Regions from separate parts of the Homo sapiens genome. Here region 1 is linked to region 2. The links are contacts of gene promoters, found by promoter capture Hi-C in blood cells and fetal thymus (Javierre and others, 2016). All regions are on one chromosome and are shown on one strand. The core of a region is centred on a gene start or on the middle of the fragment in contact, and the rest is flanking DNA. Distances in the headings are between cores, read along the strand shown.

Evidence for each region. The method cuts DNA at HindIII sites, captures the fragments that hold promoters and counts their contacts. A CHiCAGO score of 5 or more calls a contact.
Region 1: a contact is called between the fragment with the promoter of STRBP here and the fragment with the promoter of DENND1A in region 2, in 4 of 17 cell types (total CD8 T cells, M0 macrophages, activated CD4 T cells and 1 more). The highest score is 8.9, in total CD8 T cells.

Annotation. Positions count from the first base shown.
Region 1 is chr9:123,265,030-123,272,261 of GRCh38, forward strand. STRBP (spermatid perinuclear RNA binding protein) reads right to left here and starts at 3,557. Exons shown (of 19, transcript NM_018387.5): 1 at 3,407-3,557. RefSeq lists silencers at 3,283-3,332, 3,503-3,982 and an enhancer at 3,383-3,883. The HindIII fragment of the contact is 5,570 bases long and covers 1-4,828 here.
Region 2 is chr9:123,927,321-123,935,017 of GRCh38, forward strand. DENND1A (DENN domain containing 1A) reads right to left here and starts at 2,806. Exons shown (of 24, transcript NM_001352964.2): 1 at 2,569-2,806. The coding sequence starts at 2,585. RefSeq lists enhancers at 563-612, 1,663-1,742, 1,678-2,363, 1,993-2,192 and a silencer at 2,543-3,032. The HindIII fragment of the contact is 11,751 bases long and covers 1-4,773 here.

The DNA.
Region 1 (7,232 bases), core at 2,307-4,806, 660 kb before region 2:
ACATATATCAAATCTCAAAATACTCAGAGTTTCAATCGAAGGGACATTATACTCTAAAAATCTTTCCCTCCAAAAATAAAATCTTACAGTAATGCCTTCAGAGCATTCTTTTGCTGCCATGACACACTTCAAATTTGGATTTTACGAATCATTTGCTTCCAGGTTTTTTTTTTAATATTTATATTAACGGATTCCGATTACTTAAAATTTGGTGTTCTGCTCCGCCCTCATTATGTTTAGGCAAGATTCCCACTTCCACTCAAACTTATTATTCGAACATACAATGGCTGCATTAAGATACTTCCTAAATCGACAAAAGAAGAAAACTAATCAACCCAGAAAGCTCCCAAGCTACCAAAGCGAACCTTTTATTTGAAATCATACTAGGTACCACACTACACATTACGTGAAGCCCACAGAGTGATAATTGAAGTTATTTCTGCAACATGATGAAATTTATTTCTTAGCAAAATCTGACAAGACTTAATTTTCAACTGTCAAAAGGGAAATCGTTTTCCAAGATTCTAGGAAACCTTGCTTACTGAAGCAGTCTCAAAGTAGTTTGCTTAATCCTTTCAAACCCCTAAGAATCTAACACAAGCCACAGAACAGTGAATGAGACTTGCACTGAAATAAATGTCTGTGTTCAAACCCCTAAAGGTTACTTCCCATGTGTTTGGCAAGCTGAAGGCCATATGTCCGCCCAACCCATAAGTGTCTTTCCTCAATAAAGCTAACATTACACTTCCCAACTCAAATCAAAATACCAGAGAATCCAAAAGCCTCCAACTAAATTTTACCTGAACCATTTGGGAGAAAAAGTCAACAATCCAGATCAGTTATTCACGCCTTGAAAGAGTGTTAAGAGTCAGAAAGCTCCAATTCTGCCACTTTTAGGAGCTAGGTGTACATTACTTCTGTCTGCCTATAGCATGGGACTCAGATATTACATCACCCCATGCTGCCTGAATACTGACCCATTACCCAGAAAGCACCAGGGTATCTGAGACACTGCACCAAGGTATCCCTTTCTTCCTCTCTTATGCATAGCCCTTGAATGCTACTGGCCACTGGGCCTGGTCTCTTCCAGTTTCACAAAGACATCTGCCCTGCACCTGCTGCAATCCCATTTCCATTCACTCTTGGTGCGCTCCTCGTGACCCTGTGTGGCCCTTCTGTCCACTCGTCAAACCAATATGCTAGGATGATACCCACTACACACCTCTCCCAAATTTGGGGATGTGCACTCAGCTCTCCCTTACCCCTTCCCCCTTCCTCATTTACTGGGTTCTGGAATTAAAAGCAGGCTCAACGATCTCTCTGACCCTAGGAGTATGAACTTTCAGATATGACACTGAGTTTAATGTCCTCCACTTTCCATTAACATCATTCCAGGATCCAGGTCCCCCCACCCCTCAATCTCCAGTTTCTCTCAGTATGGAATTTAATCCTCTCCATTTAGTTATTTTTCCAACTTCTGCACTCTGCCTGATCTTCCTTAGACTCTCAGTGACCTAAAAATCTTGGCCCCTTTCATCTCTCAAACTCAAAGTGTTCCAATCTCTCCCCATACTTCCACTCCTTGGATCTTCCATACTCTCTTAAGCAACCTGTGTTCCTAGCTCTCTCCAACTTAAGCAGTCATTTCCTGCCCTAAACCTGGGCATCCTATTTCCCCCACCACCACCACCACCACTCCAATCCATCACCTATGCCTTTCTAGTTACAGACATGTCCACATACACCTCTGCCTTGCCCTTCCCTTACTCCACTATAGGTATTAAGCATTCTTCTACATCCTCTACCCCAAAATAGCCTGTCTACCTTCCTTCTTTCTCCCTACCTCCCTTCTCCCTACAGCACAAAATTCAGTGCCCCAAACCTGTGCTTCCCTCCCTCCACCTACTGTACTCCAGACCTGTCCACCTTCCCCTCCAGTCTATCCCGTTGTCCCCCTCTACTGATTTCGTTCTCACCCTCCCCTCCACCTTCCTCCTCCCCAACCGCTCCACACTTCCCGCCTCAGAAATCTTTCCTTCCATTTGTCCCCACACTTTACCTGCCACTCCAAGAACACTTCCCTTTCCCCACCCCCTTTTGCCCTCCACCTCACACACTCCACGCCACCCCACACCTGTCCCTCTCCCCCAGCTCCTGCCCCTAACGTCCTCCAACACTTGCCAAGAACCCCTCACCCTCCGTCCTACCTCAAAATTCCCTCTCTTGCTGATCCCACCTTCTTCCATACTTCCTGCATAAACACCCTCCATTTCACGCACTTCTCCCGCTATCCTTTAAATGCCCCACACACCTCCTGCTCTCCATCCCCATCACCCTTCTCCTACTGTCCCCACCTCTCTCTGCAAGCCCTCAAACTAAGTCTCTGCCCCAATGAACTTCCCCCTTCCACCCCATACTCCTCTTCCCTGAGCACCAGATACCTGCCTTTTTATCCTTACATGTCAACCCCCTCCCGCCTCCCTGCAGGCTCCCCTATACACCTGGCCACACACTCCCTCACACCCCTCGCAGGTCTCCTGGAGCCCCTGGGCCTACCCTTCATTTCCCTATCACCCCAGAAGCCTAGGCACCCTGCTCCCCTCCCTCCCTTTCAGGCGCTCCCTGCCTGCCCTCACTTCCCCCTGCCCCGACCCCCTCCTCCATCGTTCCCCTTCACGGGCGTCCCGGTGGCCTTCCTAATACCCGCCCCACTCCCTGCCCCTGGCACGCAGCGCTCCTTCCAGTCCTGCTCGAGTCCCCAGTCTTCTCCCTCCATTCCCACCCCACTCGTCCCTGCCCTCCCCAAAAGCCCCCTCATTCCCTCTTGAACCCCACAATATAGTGCCCCCCCCCACCGGACGGAATGTCCTCCATCTCGCACTCGCCTGGCCCAGGGGGCCCCCCAAACCTGCCTGAAGGCTCTCCTCCTCCATTGGGCCGGATCCCTCTGCACCCCTATTTACCCCCAAATCTGCCCACACCTTCCGCCTGCCCCCCGAAGCCTCTCCCCAGCTCCTGCCCCCAATGTCCTCCAACACCTGCCCCGAGCCCCGAGCCCTCCGTCCCGGAAGACCTCCCGGCACCGCGTCCCCCAACCCTGCCCACGCCCTCCCCTGATCGGCCGGGACCCCGTCCCCGCGAAGGTGAGGAAGGCTGCCCGCTGCCCTTGCCCGAAGCGGCCGGGGCACCGCAGCGGCGGCGGCGGCGGCCACAATGCCGGAGCCGCGGGGCCGGGATTGCTCCCTGCTCTCCGCCTCGGCCGCCACCGCCGCCGCCGCTGCTAAGGACGCACAACAAACAATGCGGGGCCCGGGCCGGCTCCGCCAACCGCCTCAACCGCCGCCTTAACCGCCGCCCGCCCGGGACGGCCCGCCGCGCAGGCGCCCGCCCCGCCGCCGGAGCCTACCCGCGCCGCCGCGCTCTGCCCGCGCCCGGTACCCGCTCCCGCTCCGCCGCCGCCGCCACCTCGCCCGCTCGCGTCTCCGGCTCCTCTGCCCAGCGGCGGCGGCTGCGGCGGCTGCTGCCCTGGTGGCGCTCGCGGCTCCGGTCTCCGCTTCGGCGGCGGCAGCGGCGGCAGCGAGCACGTGACACCGTCGAGCGCGCCCATTGGCCAGGCCAGGGGGCGGGCCCCGCGGCTGCTGGGGAACGGAAAGCCCGCCCCCTCGTTCGCCGCGCGCCCCCTCCACGCGCGTCCTGCCGCACCTGAGAGCGCCGGCCAGCGCCCGCCGCCGCCTTGCTGTGCCGCCGCCTGCGCCAAGTGCGCACCTGGGAGCGCGCAGGGAGCACTCGCCGCCGGCGGCCTTATGCACCTGCCAGCGGACGCTTACGTAAACTGCGTCCCCGCCTTCCTCCCGGCCCCAGGCCCCCGCTCGCTGCAGCACCTGAGCCCCGCTGCGCTAGCGGCGTAACTGCGGCGGAGCGGAGACGAGCTGCGCTGGGAGGCTAGCGAAATGCACGGAAACTTCGTAACTTCCGAACCTGGGAGCTGCGCCGAGCCGCGGCGGCTAGCCGCCTTCCCCGGGCCCCGCACCCCAGTGCGGGATGCCCCCCAACCCCAGCAGCCACACAAATGGAGTAGGCGTCGCACTGCCTCCCGAGGTAGAGGGGCAGGCCAGTAGGCTTTGACTTGTGCCACCGCCCACCTACTTGCTGGCTGTGTGACCTTGGCCAAGTTACCAAGAACCGTTCTGAGCCTCAGTTTCCTCATCAGGAAAACTGGGACAATAATTCCAATTTAGGAGCTGTTGGGGAGATGGCATAAGACAATAGGTGTGAATCCTGGCACACAGCAGTCGCTGAACAGAAGCTGCTACAATCACCTCTCCTTCACCTGCCTATAATGAACCTCGCTGGGATTGAGTTTGGGCCCAGGACCTCTCTGACCTCCTTATGGTTGGGTCAGACTTTGGCTGAACACCTACCAGCTCTGTGCCAGGGGCGGCGCTGGGGAAGAATTAAAGGTTCGCTTTCTATTCTACAGTCCCTGGCCTCAAGTTCTTGGTGCCCAGCATTCTGCTTGCCAGTATACAGTCCCTGCTGTATACCGGGGGGTTTGCAGGCTGCAGGGATGCACTGGCAAATGAGACAATGTCTTTGCCCTAAGACAATTCCCAGCCTGGAGCAGAAACGACCTGACCACTCAGTGCCAAGACAGAGGACCTTGAACAGCCCAGGGGTTGAGGAGGGACTCCCCACAACAGCCCCCTTGGGGCCCCTTTTCATCTTTCTAACACACCAGGCTCAAATATTTTAACAGCTCTGTTTCATTCACAGAATAAAGTGTAAAAAACCCAATTTCAACTGAAAAGGCCTTGGTGATCTGGCCTTAAGCTTCAAGGTGCACGCCCTTCCCTTTGCCCCTCCTTCAGGCCAATGTGACCCTCCAGCCACACAGAACTACAGTACTGTTGTTTCCAGAGTATGCCCAGGTGTGTAGGAGCCTGAGTCTCCTGAGACAGATGCCAGGCCGCAAATCCCTTTCTAAACCCTCTCCCCACCTCTGACCACTCACACCTTCCTTGACCCTCCTGAAAAAAATCCTGGGTATCCTTATCAATCAGCTCAGAGTATATTCTCTGGAGATCCTTGGCTGCCTCAGACACATGGTCTAAGCTCCCTCGGCTTGAACATAGTCCTGTTAAGCTATATGTATTCTCATGGCACTAGATTGTAATTGTTTAGCTGTCTGTCTCCTCCCTGGTCTCTCAGTCCCTTGAGGACAGGGTCATCTTCCTGCCTAAGTGTGTTAGGGAAGACTACACGTGCACATGACATGAGATCATTAAAGCTGGGTTTTGTAGGATGCCCATAAGTATCAGAGGGAGAAGAGGCGCCACACTGTAAAGATCCAGATTCACTGCACACTAGCTGTGTGATCTTGGAAAATCAATCTCTCTAGTCTAAGTTTACTCATCTGCCAAGTGAGACTAATAGTATTGCATATTGTAGGGTTGTTAGAAGGATTCATTGCAACCGTATATCTAAGGCACTCAGCACGGTGTCCAGCACTTGGTTACATTTTTAATTTTTTTAAAATAGAAGAACAGCATGGCATTAAGGATTCAATAGTATTTCTTGTTTCAATATCTTTATTGGGTTTGTAACTCCAAACACTGAGACAAAAGCATGCAAATTATATAAAAGGAAAGAAAGTAAAAAGTTAGGCCAGACGCAGTGGCTCACGCTGGTAATCCTAGCACTTTTGGGAGGCCGAGGCGTGTGGATCACCTGAGGTCAGGAGTTCAAGACCAGCCTGGCCAATGGGGCAAAACCCCATCTCTACTAAAAATACGAAAATTAGCCGGACGTGTTGGTGTGTACCTGTAATCCTAGCTACTCGGGAGGCTGAGGCAGGAGAATCGCTTGAACCCGGGGGGCAGAGGTTGCAATGAGCCGAGATCCCGTGATTGCACTCTAGCCTGGACAACAAGAGCGAAACTCCGTCTCAAAAAAAAAGTTAATGTCTCTCTCCCTTCCTGCCCTTGACTCCACTCCCACTACCCCAATCCCAACTCCAGAGTAGTTACTGTTAATTTTTCATGTCCCTCATTACATGTCCAAAGAAAAAAGAAAGTTGCAGAAAATTATTTATCTGTAATGTGTATGTTGGATTCTCCATAGAAAAACGTCAGAAAGGATTAAACACCAACCACTATTGGTTATGCCTGGAAGATAGAACTGGGTGTGGGGATGGAGGACTTAAAAATTTCTGCATTGTTTTAATTTTTTAAGGATACATATGCAGATTTTTGTTTTGCTTTGTTTTTGAGAGGGGTCTTGCTCTGTCGCCCAGGCTGTAGTGCAGTGGCGCAATCTTGGCTCACTGTAACCTCTGCCTCCTGGGTTCAAGTGATACTCTTGCCTCAGCTTCCTGAGTAGCTGAGATTACAGGCGCCTGCCACCATGCCTGGCTAATTTTTGTATTTTAGTAGAGATGAGGTTTCACCATGTTGGTCAGGCTAGTCTTGAACTCCTGACTTCAAATGATCTGCCCGCCTCGGCCTCCCAAAGTGTTGAGATTACAGGCGTGAACCACCGTGCCCAGCCTGTTTTGTTTTGAGACAGAGTCTCACTCTGTCACCCAGTCTGGAGTGCAGTGGCACAATCTCGCCTCACTGCAACCTCAGTCTCCCAGGTTCAAGCCATTCTCCTGCCTCAGCCTCCCAAGTAGCTGGGATTACAGGCGTGTGCCTCCACACCCGTCTAATTTTTTTTGTATTTTTAGTAGAGATGGGCCAGGCTGGTCTCGAACTCCTGGTCTCAAGTGATTCTCCCGCCTTGGCCTCCCAAAGTGCTGTGATTACAGGCGTGTAATCACACATAGATTTTTAACAATTTACTTGAGGTATAGTTTACACATAAAATTATGCATTTCAAAAATGTACAATCCAATGATTTTCAGTAACTTCACTAAGTGGTGCAACATTAACATAAGTCAGTTTCAGAACATTTAGCATACCTTGCCGGGCACGGTGGCTCAGCACTTTGGGAGGCCAAGGTGGGCAGATCACGAGGTCAGGAGATCGAGACCATCCTGACCACCATGGTGAAACCCCGTCTCTACTAAAAATACAAAAATTAGCTGGGCATGGTGGTGGACACCTGTAATCCCAGCTACTCAGGAGGCTGAGCCAGGAGAATGGCTTGAACCCAGGAGGCAGAGGTTACAGTGAGCCAAGATCATGGCACTGCACTCCAGCCTGGTGACAGAGGAAAACTCTGTCTAAAAAAAA
Region 2 (7,697 bases), core at 1,556-4,055:
GAGACAATGTTAAGCCCTACTCTGCATGTTAACAGCCTAATTCCTTGGTCATTAAAATTTTCTTCTCCATTACCTTAAACATACCTTTCTCTGACATTTCTAATATACAGTAATGTTCTTAGTCTTTTGATACAGAAGGTGAAAAAAAAGAAAAAAACCTAACAATTACTGAGTTTTTAACATGGACCTGACATTTACATTGATACTGTGTTCAATGCTCATAATAACCCTACAACCTGGACACAGTCCTCCCCATTTTACCTTCAGGGAAACTGAGGTTGAAAAGGCAGTCTGTGTAAAGTTTCATAATTAGCATTAAAAAGAGCTGGAATTTGAACCTAGACCTGATTCCACCTAGTCAACTGACTTGCTGCATCAGAGATAAGCAAGAGAAAACAAAAGGAACCCCTCCCCCTTGTCCCTACCTCCAAGACTGTCCTATTCAATGGAACCTGCACACTTAGATTTCACCACAGCCAGGAGAACATCTTGAATGCCCTGCCAGGAGGGAAAGCCAGCCAGTAGTAACCAAAGCTCTGTCTTCTCCAACAACTAGAGGAGCACTTAAGTGGGTAATTTCCTGTCCATCCCCATTCCTAGCTACAGGCAGAAGTTGCATAATCAACAGTCACTATAAATCACAACTACTTTTCATAACTTCTCTCTTCATATTCTCTTTCGGTTTCACCACAAGCTAACATATTTCCCAAGCCTAAGTTTTTATCACAGAGTAGTCTAGTTTCAAGATCAATAAGGCTATTCTTCATACTCATTTCACGCTTAATACAATTCCATGCCTTAGTAAATTCCCTAACCCAAGTGCTCAGAATTAGCGATGGGTTCCACAAAACACATTTGAGAAATGTATTTGTCAACCTGCTACCTTGGAGAGCAACAGAGAGATTTGATGGCTAGCCATCTGAACTTTTACTTGCTGGATTTTAATACTGGTTCTGACACTCACTGCTTCATGTCAGGCAAGTTTCTGAACTTTTCTGTAACAAGAAGGGTAAGTGTCCTCACGCATACTCTGCAACTCTAAGTTGGCTTCTGGAAAGTGTTTCTAAGTGCTATTGAAATCCAAGTTTACAACTCTTACTTGGAAGCAGGAGCTAAACTTGAGTGCCTCTTTAATCCCAATGTTTCACAAACGACATCTTTTTACCTCCCAAGCCTCTCAAGCTCTTGTTTGGAGCATGCTTCTAACTTTTTTCTCATTTCCACAAAAATAAAGATTTAACAGAGTGTTCATGCGACTCTTCCATTTTCATTACCATAAGCAAACTTTTCTAGTTTCATTCAGCAGATGTCTCAAGGCTGCTGCAGCGCATCTCATACATATTTTGTAAATGAGAAGCCTAACCACACGGGGGACTGCAAGGCTGGGCAAGGGTCACACTGCACGGGCATCACCTGGACATGAGATGCAATGTTTGAATAATTATTAGTTTCACCCTTAAGGCCCTTCTCCTTTCAAACTTCCCTAGTACAATTCTCAAAATGCTGAAATAAACACATTCCACAAACTTTCTTGTAAGAGGGTTTAAAGTGTCCTAGGAAAGTTGTTTTACAGAAAAGCCTATGCTGTCAACTTTGCTTTTTAATGCCCTTAAACAATTCTATTAGTCACAGAGGAAAAAGTGAACATTTGTTAGTAATTAGAGATAAAACATCTCCAGTTCTGGGGCAGAGGAAGGGAGAGGCCACAAGAGGACCTGGCTGGGAGGGGAGATAGAGTCGAAAGCCACACACCCAAATTGGACCGCTTAAGAGTTGCACTTTCCAAAGTCAACTTCTAAGTCTACAAGGACAGCAACAATGTTTCAGTGGATTCTGAAGTTACATGTATCAACAATTTCCCCGGAAAGCTAACCCTCCACCGGGAACTCCAGGTGAATGAATGAGTGAGGGAATTCGCCAGATTGAGTTACAAAGCCTTTCCAACGATTATCAAGAGCAGGTGCTCGGTTACAACACAGAGGTATCCTCCTTCACAGCCTTTGGACCTTGCTGCGTGGAGATTTTCACAGATAAGAGGGGGGAAATAGAGAGACAGGCCTTCCTCCCCGGCCATCCACACCTTAGGTGGCCACACCATGAGCGGCCCCTCCCTCTAAGAACCTCACGCGACTTCTGTGGGGGCCGCAGGCCTCAAGCGGCCAGGCTGCAACCTCTCCGGACCTGCCAACTTTCAGGGGCGCCCCAAACATGCCCAAACATGGGGAGGTGCTTCCGGGGCTTTCCCACTCCCCTTCCCCACAGTTGAAGGACCATTTTCAGGGGCTCTCCGTAAACCCGGGGAGGGGGCCGCCCTGTAATCTCAGCTGTTCCGACCCCCAGGTGAGGAGGGGACACCTGACCCCCGGCGCCCTGCCACCCCGCGCGCACCCCGCCCCCGCGCCTCCCTGGATCGCCATAGCAACCGTCCCCCTCCCCGCGTGCCGGCGTCACGCGGGGCGCCCCTCTGGTCTCGGCAACAAGTCCCCCGCGCGGCCCGCGGCCTGCAGCCCTGGCCCGGCCTCGCCGCCCCGCGCCCGGCCCGGCTCCGCCCGGCCCGGCCGCACTCACTTGATCCTGGAGCCCATGGTCCCCAGGCCTCCTCATGGGCCCGCGGGCCCCGCTCGGCGCTGCGCTGCCCGCCCGCCCGCGGCCGACCGGCCTCCCTCTGGCGCTCTCCCCGCCCCTTCCTCCCTTCCCTCAGGCTGGGGCCCGCCCGCTCGAGGCTCGCTCCCTCGCCGCCGCCGCCGCCTCCAGGGGTTAATGTACTCGCTCCAGCCCGGCGAACGCCATGGTCGCCGGCGCGCGTGCCCGGCGCGCGCCGCCCCCTCCGCCTCTCACCACCGCCCCTCCCGCCCGCGCTGCCGCCGCCGCTGCCCGCTGGGGCTGCTGGGAAGTGTAGTCCGCTCGCGGGGGCGGGGCCGTGGCCGGTGGGGGCGGGGCGGGAGCGCGGTCACCCGCACGTCTCCCAGGGCGCGGGCCCCGGAGGACTCTGGCGTTCCGTTGCAGGCCCTTACACATCTGCACCCCACTGCGCCCCGCTGGAAACCTCCACTCACAGCCGCCCTGAAGAGACCCTAATCCTCTCATGGAGACCCCAAGCCCTCCCGATGAAACCGCCACCAATCCTCCCATTGGAGGCCTCCCACCCAGCCTCTCTAACGGAGAGCTAATCCCCCGCCCAGGCCTCCATGAAAACACGTTTTCCCTTTAACATCCCGCACCTTCCAGTAAGTTCCGTGCAGAACCTCTTCTCCATCACACCGTCCACTTCCCCATCTGAAGGCCTTTCCTCTTCCTTTCCCCTTAGAGCTTGAAGGAGACCCCACATACCTACAGGAAAGCCACCTGGGGGCTTCGTGGACCCACGTGGTGGCTCAGCTCTGCCCTCCCGCTGAGGACCTCTGCCTCCCTTTATCAGCCGTTTTGGGAACTCCAACATCGAAGCCTCCTGTTAACACAACAGTCCCTGATAGAGATTAACTCAATGCAAATGAAAGGATTTGAGAGCCGAGATCACCAGCCTGCTACCTACCCCTGCTCCCCCTTGGGATTCACTTCCATGAACACCTCAATTTCATCCCCTCTAGGGCCAGAGGGATCATAAAGGAAGCAATAATCACAGCTACCATTAGCCACCCTTTAATGAGCGGGTGAGTGCCCTTTCTGCATCAGACACAGTATTTCCGTACATCATTAGTGCCAATCCTCACAATAATCCTGTGTTCATCTCCCTAATTTACAAAGAGGAAACTGAGCCACATTCCCAAGGTCACATAACTAGCAACGAGTGAAGAAGCCAAGATTAGTGTCCAGACTGAATCATTCCAGACACCTGTGACATAGTCATGCTTTAAGGTGGCACCTTTGGCCACAAGTCCAAAGACATTTTTAATATTAGGCTTTTTTTCCTTTTTTTTTTTTTTTTTCCAATTTTCTGTCCCGAAATGCCATTCATCACTTCTGCCATTTTAGTTCTTATAAATGCATGGAGTGCCTCCCCACCCTACCCCCACCCCATAGCCTCTACGTAACTGGTCCTGCGTCCTAGCTCCCGGCCAGGATGGGAGGAAAGAAAGCCAGAAGATAAGTCGTAGAAGACTTCTTCTGTTGGAGTCACCTTCTGAATAAAGATAGTTTCTCCCTTTTGCCTCTGCCTTTAGGTTGTTGAAGTCAAAGGGTAAACTTTTTAAAATGAAAACCAAAAAAAAAGTGAAAATGTCCAAACTGTCATTTTGAATTTAAAGTCTTATGCACCCAGACACCAATACCGACTTGTAAACACCCCCAGGAGCAAAGCTCTGCTAGACAGGCAGGAGCTCTGTGGTGTTTATTCACCTATGAAACTTCTCCAAGGAACAGTTGCTATCAAGATCTTCCCTGGAATGGGAGCCAGTTCAAAAGCTCTGAGCAGGAGACTATAAATAAAACAAAGTTATTGGTGGAGGGCAAAGCTGGCTGCTTTTCAAAGGAGGTTGTAGCCATCCTGGCCACAAATATGTCTGGGTGCCTGCTGGGTGGGGTGTGTGTGTGTGTGTGTGTGTGTGTGTGTGTGTGTGTGTGTGTTGGAGAGGGAGGTAGAAGGTGGGGATTATGTGTCTGCTCAGGTGGCCTCAGAGACAGCAGGGTGGTCTGAGGAGAGAGCACTGGACTGGGAGTTAGGAACGTGGCTTCTAATTCTGGCTTCAGCATTGACTGGCAGATTTTATGCAAATGATTAGACAAGTGTATGTTTTAGTTTCCTCCCCCGTAAAATGGGCAGAGAGAGTGATGAGAAGCTTCCATCATAAGAGCGAGTGTAACATAGGAGCAAAGAGCACAGGCTCTAGAACCAGACTGCCAGGGTTTAAATCTCAGCTCTACCTCTTACTAAATATATGGCCTTGGGTGAATTATTCCTTCTCTGTGTGTCTCAGGTTCTCTGTCTGTAAAATGGAAATGGTGATAATAATAGACCTATTTTAGTGAGTTGACACGAGGATTAAGTGAGTTAGTGACATTTATAAAGTATTTAAACAGTGATTATCACATATTAAGTACTCAAAAATTAAAAGCAACTATTATATACAAAACACTTAGCACCGTTTGGCTTTTATTATTAAAATTAATAAGGCAACCAGTGGCTGGGCATGGTGGCTCACACCTGTAATCCCAGCACTTTGGGAGGCCAAGGCGAGTGGATCACTTGAGGCCAGGAGTTCAAGACCAGCCTGACCACCAACATGGTGAAAACCCATCTCTACTAAAAAATAGAAAAAATTTAGCCGGGTGTGGTGGCAGGCGCCTGTGGTCCCAGCTACTCAAGAGGCTGAGGCAGGAGAATCGCTTGAACCCAGAAGGCAGAAGTTGTAGTGAGCCGAGATCACGCCACTGCACTCCAGCCTGGGCAACAGAGCAAGACTGTCTCAAAGGAAAAACAAAGGCCGGGCATGGTGGCTCATGCCTGTAATCCCAGGACTTTGGGAGGCTGAGGCGGGCAGATCATGAGGTCAGGAGATGGAGACCATCCTGGCTAACATGGTGAAACCCCATCTGTACTAAAAAAAAATACCAAAAATTAGCTGGGCGTGGTGGTGGGCACCTGTAGTCCCAGCTACATGGGAGCCTGAGGCAGGAGAATGGCGTGAACCCAGGAGGCGGATTTTGCAGTGAGCCGAGATCATGCCACTGCACTCCAGCCTGGGCGACAGAGCAAAACTCCGTCTCAAAAAAAAAAAAAAAAAAGTACCCAGCTCCGTGGCTTGTTCCTGTAGTGCCAGCTACTCAGGAGGCTGAGCCCAGGAGTTTAAGGCTGAGCCTAGGATTTTGAGGCTGCAGCACGCTATGATCATGCCCATGAATAGCCACTGCACTCCACCCTGAGCAACATAGCGAGGCCCCATCTCTGAAATAAATAAATACATTTTGTAAAACTGATCAACATAATAATAAAGAGTACCATGCTTGGATTCGGGAGACCTGAGTTCTCAGCCCAACTTGTTTGTTCACGTTCTGTATCAGTTAGAATTCAATTCAACTGTAAATGATAGAGAAGTGAAATAACAATTGTTGAAAAAAATAGAATTTTATTTCTCTTTCACATAAAGTCTGGCGATTAACATTCCAGAGCTGGTATGACAATTCTATAATTAATGGAGACCCAGAATTCTATCTTATTGCTCTCCGATTCTCCAGGAAGAATTTCCACCTCATAGTCCAGGATGGCTGCTTAAACTCTAGCTATCTAATCTGCAGCCCAGCCTGCAGGAAGGAAGGAGGATCTGTCCACGTCAAACTCTGACCTTTAAGTGTACTTCCCAGGAATTACTCACACCACTTCTATTTACATCCCAGTGGCCAGAATTTAGTCATGCAACCACACCTCACTAGAAAATACAGCCTTTATTCCAGACAACCAGACAATAAGGTCCGCAGCTGAAAGGTAGGGAGAAGGGAATGGCATTTCCAGGAAAGAAGGGGAGGATAGATATTGCAAGACACCCAGCAGGCTCAGCCATGCTTGGCTATGTGATTTTGAGCAAGCCACAGATTTAACCAAAATAAGAGAATCAGGCCAGGTGACCTCCTTCCAAAGTCCTTTTGGGTTCTAAAGTTCTATAATTCAGTGGCTGATTGATTTTATAATTCCTTTAAACCTAGGTGAATCTGACGTCATTCAAATGAAATGAGACCTCTGTGCCAAATACATGCCATAATCAATTGTTGGAATGTAAATCTTCTGGTGAAGAGAAAGGATTTAGGAACTTTGCCTTCTTGACTGTTGTCAAAATAGGCTAAGCAGATCTAGCAGATAAAAGTCCAACGGTAGGGATGATACCACCTGCATTGACACTTTGATGCTCCTCAGTTTCCAAGCTTGCTCTTGCTCTTTTGTACCTGTTTGGTTTCTCTGCTTGGAATTTAGGGAGCTGTGTTTATTGAGGGGAAGACAGCAACCCCAGGGAGCTCTATTGGCCCCCAATTATACAATACGAAATAGCAGAACAAATGGTCTGTGTGCCAGGATTCAGTGGTCTGTTGTTCCTAATACGTTAAATTGTGATTATATTATTTTTTATTGAAATGTAGTTCACCAACCATACAATTTACCACTTTAAATGTGTACATTTCAATGGTTTTAGCTGATGGACTTTTGGATTGTTTTCTTTTTTTTGAGTCTCACTCTGTCACCAGGCTGGAGTGCAGTGACGCAATCTCAGCTCACTTCTCAGCTCACTGCAACCTCCACCTACCGGGTTCAAGGTATTCTCTTGCCTCAGCCACATGAGTAGCTGGAACTACAGGCGTGTGCCACCATGCCCAGCTAATTTTTGTATTTTTAGTAGAGACAGGGTTTCACCATGTTGGCCAGGCTGGTCTCAATCTCTTGACCTTGTGATCCGCCCACCTCAGCCTCCCAAAGTGCTGGGATTACAGGCGTGAGCCACGGCGCCCATCCTGGATTGCTTTCTTCTTTTGGTTATTGTGACTCTGGAGCCAGATGGACCCAGGTTGCTAGTTGGGTGAACTTGGAGAATGTTACTTAAATTTTCTGAGCCTTGGTTTCTTCTTCTTTAATAAGAGGATGATAATACCCACTTTACAAAGATAAAACAAAATGAAGAATTTAAGCTTCTTGCTCTATATTTGGTTTTCAATGAATGGGAATATTATTCTGCTAAATGGTCAAATTGATAAAGAGAGGAACCACATCAGGTTTG